Linked DNA regions of Homo sapiens: all the other regions are linked to region 2. The links are contacts of gene promoters, found by promoter capture Hi-C in blood cells and fetal thymus (Javierre and others, 2016). All regions are on one chromosome and are shown on one strand. The core of a region is centred on a gene start or on the middle of the fragment in contact, and the rest is flanking DNA. Distances in the headings are between cores, read along the strand shown. Region 1 has its middle 21 kb from the start of GTF2I. Region 2 holds the start of GTF2IRD1 (GTF2I repeat domain containing 1). Region 3 overlaps GTF2I (general transcription factor IIi).

The links. The method cuts DNA at HindIII sites, captures the fragments that hold promoters and counts their contacts. A CHiCAGO score of 5 or more calls a contact.
Region 1: a fragment that was not itself captured here is called in contact with the fragment with the promoter of GTF2IRD1 in region 2 in 6 of 17 cell types (activated CD4 T cells, fetal thymus, endothelial precursors and 3 more); the score reaches 7.1 in activated CD4 T cells.
Region 3: a fragment that was not itself captured here is called in contact with the fragment with the promoter of GTF2IRD1 in region 2 in 2 of 17 cell types (activated CD4 T cells and non-activated CD4 T cells); the score reaches 6.9 in activated CD4 T cells.

The regions. Positions count from the first base shown.
Region 1 is chr7:74,635,186-74,638,437 of GRCh38, reverse strand. No RefSeq gene overlaps it. Among named protein-coding and RNA genes, the nearest start is that of GTF2I, 21 kb to the left of the region's middle. The HindIII fragment of the contact is 7,732 bases long and covers 1-3,252 here.
Region 2 is chr7:74,452,132-74,455,155 of GRCh38, reverse strand. It overlaps GTF2IRD1 (GTF2I repeat domain containing 1), which reads right to left and starts at 1,250. Exons shown (of 27, transcript NM_005685.4): 1 at 980-1,250. RefSeq lists silencers at 628-697, 1,200-1,549 and an enhancer at 2,435-2,954. The HindIII fragment of the contact is 10,217 bases long and covers 1-3,024 here.
Region 3 is chr7:74,705,390-74,708,513 of GRCh38, reverse strand. It overlaps GTF2I (general transcription factor IIi), which reads right to left. Exons shown (of 35, transcript NM_032999.4): 8 at 2,081-2,124. All of the region lies in intron 2 of GTF2I-AS1 (GTF2I antisense RNA 1), which reads left to right. Among named protein-coding and RNA genes, the nearest start is that of GTF2I-AS1, 22 kb to the left of the region's middle. The HindIII fragment of the contact is 6,850 bases long and covers 1-3,124 here.

The DNA.
Region 1 (3,252 bases), core at 697-3,196, 180 kb before region 2:
ACCCCTGTAATCCTGCCACTCTGGGAGGCCGAGGCAGGTGAATCACTTGATGTCTAGAATTCAAGACCAGTCTGGCCAGCATGGCGAAACCCCGTCTCTACTGAAAATACAAAAATTAGCCGGATGTCCCAGCTACTCGGGAGGTGGATGCACGAGAATCGCTTGAACCCAGGAGGCAGACGTTGCAGTGGGCTGAGATCACACCACTGCACTCCAGCCTGGGTGACAGAGACCCTGTCTCAAAAAAGAATAAAAAATAAAAGATAATAACATAATAAAATAAAATAGAGAGACACAGCTGTGACTATTAGCCCACCAAAAAAGTACAAATCCATTGGCCCAATGAATCTTAGATCCATAGCTGGCCATCTATGAGATACGCTAAGGTGTCCTAGATTAGGACCCTCCAGAGCGGACGTGGAATGGGACGGGATAGGCACCTGCCGCACATACTGCGTGATCACCCAGACAGCAGTGGAGAGGAAAGGCAGCTTGTATTCACTCATTCATTCATTCATTCATTCATGTTTCCATCCAAAAAGCCCACTGTTTGTGAGTCTTCCTCTTATATAAGCTCACTAAGGGCGGGGACCAAGCCTCATTCATTGGCCTGGGGCATGCCTAGTGTGGAGCAAGTATTTGGTGTTTGTTGACTGAATGACTGAAGGTGAAGGGGACTTGAGTTGCCCAGGCACAGTGGCTCACACTTGTAATCTCAGCCCTTTAGGAAGCCAAGGCAGGAGGATCACTCGAGGTCAGGAATTTGACACCAGCCCAGGCGACATAGGGAGACCCCATCTCTACAAAAAAGAAAAATTTGGCCGGGCGCGGTGGCTCACGCCTGTAATCTCAGCACTTTGGGAGGCCGAGGCGGGCGGATCACGAGGTCAGGAGATTGAGACCATCCCGGCTAAAAAACGGTGAAACCCCGTCTCTACTAAAAATACAAAAAATTAGCCAGGTGTAGTGGCGGGCGCCTGTAGTCCCAGCTACTTGGGAGGCTGAGGCAGGAGAATGGCGTGAACCCGGGAGGCGGAGCTTGCAGTGAGCCGAGATCCCGCCACTGCACTCCAGCCTGGGCGACAGAGCGAGACTCCGTCTCAAAAAAAAAAAGAAAAAGAAAAATTTTAAAAATTAGCTGGTCCCGGTAGCTCATGCCTGTAATCCCCACATTTTGGGAGGCTGAGGTGGGAGGACTGCTTGAGCCCAGGAGTTTGAGATCAGCCTGGGCCACATAGGGAGACCCTCTGTCTGCAAAAAATAAATTTTTAAGTTAGCTGGGTTTGGAGACACACACCCGTGGCCCCAGCTACTCAGGAGGCTGAAGTGAGAGGATTGCTTGAGTGCAGGAGCTCGAGGCTGCTGTGAGCTATGATCACACCATCACACTCCAGCCTGGGCAACAGGCTGTCTCTAAATAAATTCCGTCAATAAATAAATAAATAAATAAATAAATAAACAAAGCGTGTAAAGGGCTGACACCATTGCTTGACAAGGATGCAAGGAATGTTTTATTGCTGTGTTTTAGGGAATGTGTTAGGTGCTTTGGGGATGCAGAGATAAAAATGGTACCATCTGTGACCTCAAGAAGTTTACGGACTTGTGGGAGGACAGCGTTGTGAACAGGTTATAATACAATCTGACTATGGCATCTGTAATAAGAGCCCAGAGGCCGGGCATGGTGGCTCCTGCCTGGAATACCAGCACTTTGAGAAGCTGAAGTGGGCAGATCACCTAAGATCAGGAGTTTGAGACCAGCCTGGCCAACATGGTGAAACTACGTCTCTACTAAAAACACAAAAATTAGCTGGGCGTGGTAGTGGGCACCTGTAGTCTCAGCTACTTGGGAGGCTGAGACAGGAGAATCGCTTGAACCTGGGAGACAGAGGTTGCACTGAGCCGAGATCACGCCACTGCACTCCAGCCTCGGAGACAGAGTGAGACTCTGTCTCAAAAAAAAAAAGAAAAAGAAATAGTTTACAGACTTGTTGGGGGACAGAGTTGTAAACAGGTCATAATATAGTCTGACTAGGGCACCTGTCATAAGATCCCAAAGGCCGGGCATGGTGACTCATCGCTGTAATGCCAACACTTTGGGAGACCAAGGTAGGCGGATCCCTTGACGTCAGGAGTTTGAGACCAGCCTGGCCAACATGGTGAAACCCCGTCTCTACTAAAACTACAACAATTAGCCGGGTGTGTTGGCACATGCCTATAGTCCCAGCTACTCAGGAGGCTGAGGCAAGAGAATCACTTGAACCCGGGAGGCGGAGGTTGCAGTGAGCCGAGATTGTGCCACTGCACTCCAGCCTGGGCTACAGAGTGAGATTCTGTCTCAAAAAAAAAAGAGCCCAGAGGAGGTGGGGAGTGGGGGCATTTGAACAATGCATAGAACTTTCCTGGTGAAGAAGGTGGAGGGTAGGGGGTAAGGAGGCAAAGAGAAGGGCTTGTGCAGAGATCTACTGTGTCAAGGTGCACAGGGTGCAGAGGGAATGGCACACAGCCAGCGCTGGCCGGGGCGCAGGGGAAGATGCAGCTCTGTCTGAAGAGTCTGTGGTCTGATCACAATGGGCCCTCTGTGCCAGTTGACTGGTTTGTGCTGAACACGTTGGCCAAGATGCCTGTCATTCCAGCCTCCGCTTCCAGGCGAAATTACACCACCCACTCAGGGAAGCTGGACTAAGCTGCTGCTGCTTTTTTTTTTTTTTAACAACTTTATTCAAGTATTTTATTTACACAGAATAAAATGCATTCGTTTTTATGTGTTTACTTAAAGGAGCCTTAGCAAATATTTTCACTCACCCGTGTCACCCCCACCATAATCAAGATACAGGGCTGGGTGCGGTGGCTCATGCCTGTAATCCCAGCACTTTGGGAGGCCGAGGCAGGCAGATCATCTGAGGTCAGGAGTTTGAGCCCAGCCTGGCCAACATGGTGAAACCCTGTCTCTACTAAAAATACAAAAATTAGCCGGGCGTGCTGGCGCATGCCGTGCCTGAAATCCCAGCTACTCCGGAGGCTGAGGCAGGAGAATGGCTTGAACCCAGGAGGTGGAGGTCGCAGTAAGCCGAGATCACAACACTGCACTCCAGCCTGGGCGACAGAGCAAGACTCCGTCAAAAAAAAATATATGCAACACTTCCATTGCTCTAGAAAGTTTCCTGTGCCCCTCTTCATTAGTTAATTTTCTTCACCACCCACCACCCCAGGCCCTGGCAATCACTGACCTGCTTGCCTGCTTACTTTCTTCTT
Region 2 (3,024 bases), core at 1-2,500:
GGATGGGGACACAGGAGACTCCCACCGCAGGACCTTGGTCCTGGGAGGTAGGGTCACTAGGCCAGACGCCAGAGCTCCAGCCCCCTCCAGCACTGCCAGGAGGGTGGAACGAACTCTCAGCGGCACAGCGGCCCCCTTCCCTGGGCCCACGCCAGGCGAGGCAGGGTCTCACTCCCTGGCTGCTGGCCAGGGGTGAGGAGCCCAGGAGAGGTGTCAAGCCCATCATGCCCAGGGTACTTAGGATGGGGCGGGTGGGTGTTCAGCACCCTGTGGCCCCTCCTCTGTCCTCTCCACCCATCTGCAGGAACTCAGAGACCACCCACAGACCGAGTATCCCCAACTTACTCCTCTGAACCCTTTGTGGTCCCCCCACTGCCACCTTCTGAGTCCCCTCCACCCGGGATTCAGCGGCCACCACCACACAGGCCAGCCCCCTCCCCGGGGCCGGGGCGGGGGGTCCACTACAGGAACCACCCTGCTGGGGCAATCCTGGCTGGACTGGACTCCGCCTGGGAGTTGGGGGCGCGGGCCAGGGGCTGGCCCAGACCGGGAGAAGGTGGAGGGGGGAAAGGCGGGGACCGCGGCCTTCCCAGCCCCCTCTGCTCCCACCCCGGCGCCCGCCACCGCGGGCAGCGCGACTGACCTCATTCGCCAACTGCAGCAGCCTGCGGGCGCCGGCCCGGGACGCCCCCCACCTCCAGAAGAGCCGGTGGCAAGGAGGGAGGGGGTGACAGCTCCCAGCTCCCGGCCCCTCCCGGGCAGGTGGGGGGCGGCCGTCCCTCCCCTCCCCCCGGGCCCGAATTATAATCCCAGTCACGTGCCTCCCCGGGCACCCAAAAGCCGGCCCCAGCTCCTGTAACACCTTGAGAGGGGGAGGGGCGGGGACCCCCCCCCCCGGAGGCGGAGGGGATCGGGGGCGGGGGTGGGGGAGAAGGGGAGAAGGGCCTCGGTGCCCGCCCCCCGCAAAAGTTTCTCCTACCTTGGAGGATCCCCAAGCGCTCCTGCCAGCGGCGCCCCGGCCCCGGCCCGCGGCCAGGACTCAGCCTCCTGCCGCTGCCTCCTTAATTAATCCGGGAGAATGGGGGAAGGAGAGGCAGAGGGAGGCGAGGACGGCGGCGCGGCGAGGGCGGGGAGGGAGGCGCGGGGAGGGGGCGCGGGGGGGGAATCGGCCGGCCGGGGGGCTGGCGCTCGGCGGCCCCCACCCCCGGCGCGGGCTGCGGCGGAGGGCGGGGCGGCGCGGGGAGAGGAGCGGAGAGCGGGAGCGCGGGGAGGCTCTTTGTTCTGTAATCCCAGTAAGATTGCCAGCCATTCGCCCCGGCCCTAATCCCAGCCCCGCGCAACACCACCCTCCATTGGCTGCCATTTACATACGGGATTAGCCCGCCCCGCGCCCCGCGCCCCTGCGCACCCCCCTTGCTACCCAGCGCCCCTGCGTCCCGGGGACCTGGGCACCGCGGTGGGGAGAGCGCGCCGCACCCCTCGGCCCCGGACCTGCGGGGAGGGGCGGTGGCGCCCTCGGTTCTCCCCCACCAGCGCCGGATTAGAAAAGCCTGGGCGCGCCCCCGTCTACCCCCACCGCTCCCCACCACCACTGGGAGAGCAGCCGGGCGCAGGGGGCTGAAGTTGGAGGGTCAAGGTCACCCAGCTGGAACGCGCGGAGGCCCTGAGTGTCCCGGCTGGTCACTCCCGCCTGGCCCGGGTTCTAGTCCTAAGGCTTGGGCCAGGTACCTCTTACTCTTACAGCCTTTGTCCCCCTCCCACCCCTGAGATGTGCAGGAAGGCAGTGACAGGCCGAAAGTCGCAGCAGAGCCAACTGGACTCTTGGTCCCATCTTGTCTGATGGGACCTCCCTCTGATAGGCTTTTACCCCTGTCCCCCCAACCAGCCCCCCCGCCCCCCGCCCGCCCCGCTCCCACCAACCACACACACACCACAGCAGCGCTCCTACTGAATCAGTGCGCACGCCTCCCATCCGGCCCCAAAGCCATAAATCCTAATTCAGCACAAGGAACACAGTCCTTCCCCCACGTGGTGCCCTGATCCCTGAACTAGACCTTGGCTAGACTGGGCATGGCAGGGAGGGAGGGACTCACCCCAGGCAGGCCCCAACCCCAGGGAGCTTCTGGCTTAGAAGGACAGCCAAACATAGATCGAGAATCTCCCAGGTCCTGGCAAAACCCACAAGGTCTCCCCACAGCCTCCTGGCCAAACTGCCTTTGCAAAGATTAGGACAGTGACAGAAGTTTAGCGTGGCTGACTCCATCTTGCTTCCAGCCTCACGCGCTGGCTGTCTTCACTCATTCCGGGGCATAGGCCAAGCTAACCGGGGGAGGAATTTAGTTTATAGTTCAACTTTGAAACAAGGATGATAATAGTTACTCCTTAAACCTAACCTGCTTTTTATACAAGAGACCAAAACCACCTTTGTAAAACTAACGAAAGGCCGTGAGATTAGGATTATGGGAGGGGCCTGGACGCTGCTAAAACCTACGCATCGTTTTTATAATCTGACTGCTCAGGAGTCATGTGGCGAGAGATCACAAGATTTGTGAGTTCCCCACTTCCTCCTATAGATAGCATCTCTATTGTGGAAACTGAGATTGGTCTTTGGAGATGTTTTTCAGACTTTCGCATTCGGGCAACCGACTGACTCACCTGGACCTGTGTGACTCATGACTCAGCCCATCCTGTGGCCCCCACTCAGAGACCGACTCAGTGCATAAGGACCGTTTGCCACACCCCTGTGATTTCATCTCCAACCAATCAGCAGTACCCATTCCCTGGGCCCTTGCCCACCAAATTATCCATAAAAACCCTAGCCTCTGAGTTCTTGGGGAGATTTATTTGAGTAATAACTCCAGTCCTACTGCTTGGCTAGCTCTGCATTAATAAGACGCTTTTGGCTGGGCTCAGTGGCTCATGCCTGTAATCCCAGCACTTTGGGAGGCGAAGGTGGGTGGATTGCTTGAGGTCAGGAGTTCAAGACCAGCATGGCCAACACAGCGAAACCTGGTCACTAAAAAT
Region 3 (3,124 bases), core at 152-2,651, 250 kb before region 2:
CTCCAACACTACCAGAAGCAGCCTCACCATGCCCCTCAGCCACCAGCACCAGCCAAACACTACCCCACCTCAGAAGTCAGATGGAAAGCTGATGGGGTGGCAGCCACTGCCTAGAATTGTTCCTTAAAAAAAACCTTAGTATTCTCCTTAAGGTTACAAAGTTAACAATTTTATAACCAGTTAACAATCTGTTTTTGTTTGTTTTGTTTTGAGATGGAGTTTCACTCTTGTTGCCCAGGCTGGAGTGCAATGGCACGATCTTGACTCAATGTAACCTCTACCTCCTGAGTTCAAACGATTCTCCTCCCTCAGCCTCTTGAGTAGCTGGGATTACAGGCGCCCACCACCATGCCCTGCTAATTTTTTTTGTATTTTTAGTAGAGACTGGGTTTCACCATGTTGGCCAGGCCGGTCTCCAACTCCTGACCTCAGGTGATCCACTCGCCTCAGCCTCCCAAAGTGCTGGGATTACAGGTGTGAGCCACTGCACCCGGCCAACAATCTTTACATTAAATTTTCTCTGTTCCAATAACTGATATGGTTTCTGTCTCCTGGCTGCACCCTGGCTATAAATGTACATCTTATTTGCAGGATAAATTAAGAATACAAAGATGCAAAGTGTAAAAGAGAAAAAAAAAAACCTATAATGATGCTGATGTGTACATAAAGACAGTTGAAAGAATTCAATTAAACACATGGGGTTTCTGAATTCAGCATGTTTCTTTTTAGAAGCAAACTAAATATTCAGGAGATGAATATATGAATTAAGGGGAAACATTTGCAAAATGATGATTTTTTTTGGCACAATCTACTGAAAACCACACAAAAATTTGAGATTTCCTATGGAGTGAAAATAAAGAAAAAAGAAAAACCTTCTGTAAAACCAGCAAACAGTGTAAAAGACTCAAATACCTTTTCCAAAAAAGGATAATTCAACACTTTCTTGCAGCTCTCCCAAAATACACTTACATACATAAAAGCTCTCATTCACATGCACGCACACACACGTTAACGCGGCCCTACCCTCCTCCCCAACAACTCATTCGAGATGCCCTTAGATGGGGTGAAGCGGGGCAGGTGGCTGCCCAGGAAGCATGGCAGAATGAGAAGGCTGACAAAGGGCCGGGGAAGGGGCTGGGGAAGCTGCCGAGGGCCTGGTCAGACAGAGGGAGATGAGGGGGCAGGCAGGGCGGTGACAGCCCACTAAGGAGTGTCCCGTGTGAATAAGGGGCACAGGGCCGAGCAGCGGGAGGCTTGACAGTGGCACTAGGACACAGGATAACACTGGGAAATGATGAAATAAATACATATGCTGAGAACATCTGGGTGCCACGGTTCTAGGACAGAACAGAATTATAAACGGGGGCCGGGCACGGTGGCTTATGCCTGTAATCCTAGGACTTTGGAAGGCTGAGGCAGGAGGATCACTTGAGGTCAGGAGTTCAAGACCAGCCAGGCCAACCTGGCGAAACCCCGTCGCTACTAAAAATACAAAAATTAGTCGTGCGTGATGGCGTATGCCTGTAATCCCAGCTACTCGGGAGGCTGAGGTGGGAGAATCGCTTGAACCCAGAGGCAGAGGTTGCAGTGAGCCGAGGTCGTGCCACTGCACTTCAGTCTGGGTGACAAAGCAAGACTCCATCTCAAAAAATAAATAAATAAATAAGGAATTAAATAGCAATTTTATTTGAGAATTGAAAATGGTCTCCTTGGAGAGTGGAAAACAGGAGTGCAGAGAAGGAAGGTGGAGACGAAGGGGGCATTCTATTGATTTTTGTAAAAAGCACTATAGAACAGCTGACCTCTTACATTATATGTCTGTACAACGGGAAAAAAAAATACATTTTATCTACAAACATATGTAACTGGCAAAGAACTCTGCCTACCACTTACTGAGCAAATTACCTTTCTGGGTCTTAATGTGATAACATTAACAAATAGTGTCACAGTTGGAATACATTAGTAGTGACTGCCTCTTTCTTATCAAAACAAAACAATAATTGAGTCAAACTATAAACTTCTACACTAAGGAAAAGTCTTCCTTAATTTCACCATTGATTCTAAAAGTGCTAGTACATACCAGAATCTTCTGTGGGTTCAGTTTTCACTTTGATGGGGCCACAACTGCAAGGAGAAGAAAGCCCTGATCAAGCCACGTGCTGGTGACAGCCATTCCCACAGCATTCAAAGTCTCTGGGTCTCAAAGTGTTAAGATCCCTCCCTTGACCAAGGTGGGTGCAAACCTGACTCAGCTTAAAACTGACATATTTATTTATTGCATAAATAAGAGTTATTGGGCCGGGCACAGTGGCTCACGCCTGTAATCCCAACACATTGGGAGGCCGAGGCGGGCAGATCACGAGGTCAGGAGTTCAAGACCAGCCTGGCCAATATGGTGAAACCTCATCTCTACTAAAAATACAAAAATTAGCCAGGCGTGGTGGCGCTCACCTGAATCACTTGAATCCGGGAGGTGGAGGTTGCAGTGAGCTGAGATCATGCCACTGAACTCCAGCCTGAGCCACAGAGGGAGACTCTGTCTCCACAAAAAAAAAGAGTTATCAACTGAACTTAGTACTTCAATTTCTATCTATCTTTTGGGGAAAAAAGTACAATAAAATACTACAGAGTAGCATATTAAGACTTATCGGGCCAGGCGTGGTGGCTCATGCCTGTAATCCCAGTACTTTGGGAGGCCGAGGCAGGTGGATCACCCGAGGTCAGGAGTTCGAGACCAGCCTGGCCAACACGGTGAAACCCCGTCTCTACTAAAAATACAAAAAAATTAGCTGGGCATGGTGGCACATGCTTGTAGTCCCTGCTATTTGGGAGGCTGAGGCAGGAGAATCGCTTGAACCCAGCAGGGGGTCAGAGGTTGCAGTGAGCCGAGATCGCGCCACTTCACTCTAGCATGGGCAAAAAGAGCAAAACTCCATCTCAAAAATAAAAAAAAAAAAAAAGAGTTACCAACTGAACTTAGTACTTTAATTTCTATCTATCTTTTGGGGAAAACAGTATAATAAAATACTACAGAATAGCATATTAACTTCCAAATACCACTCTAAGGCCAATTCACAGTGTGACCAATGCCTCTGGCTTTTCCCAGGAACTCTACTATTCAGAA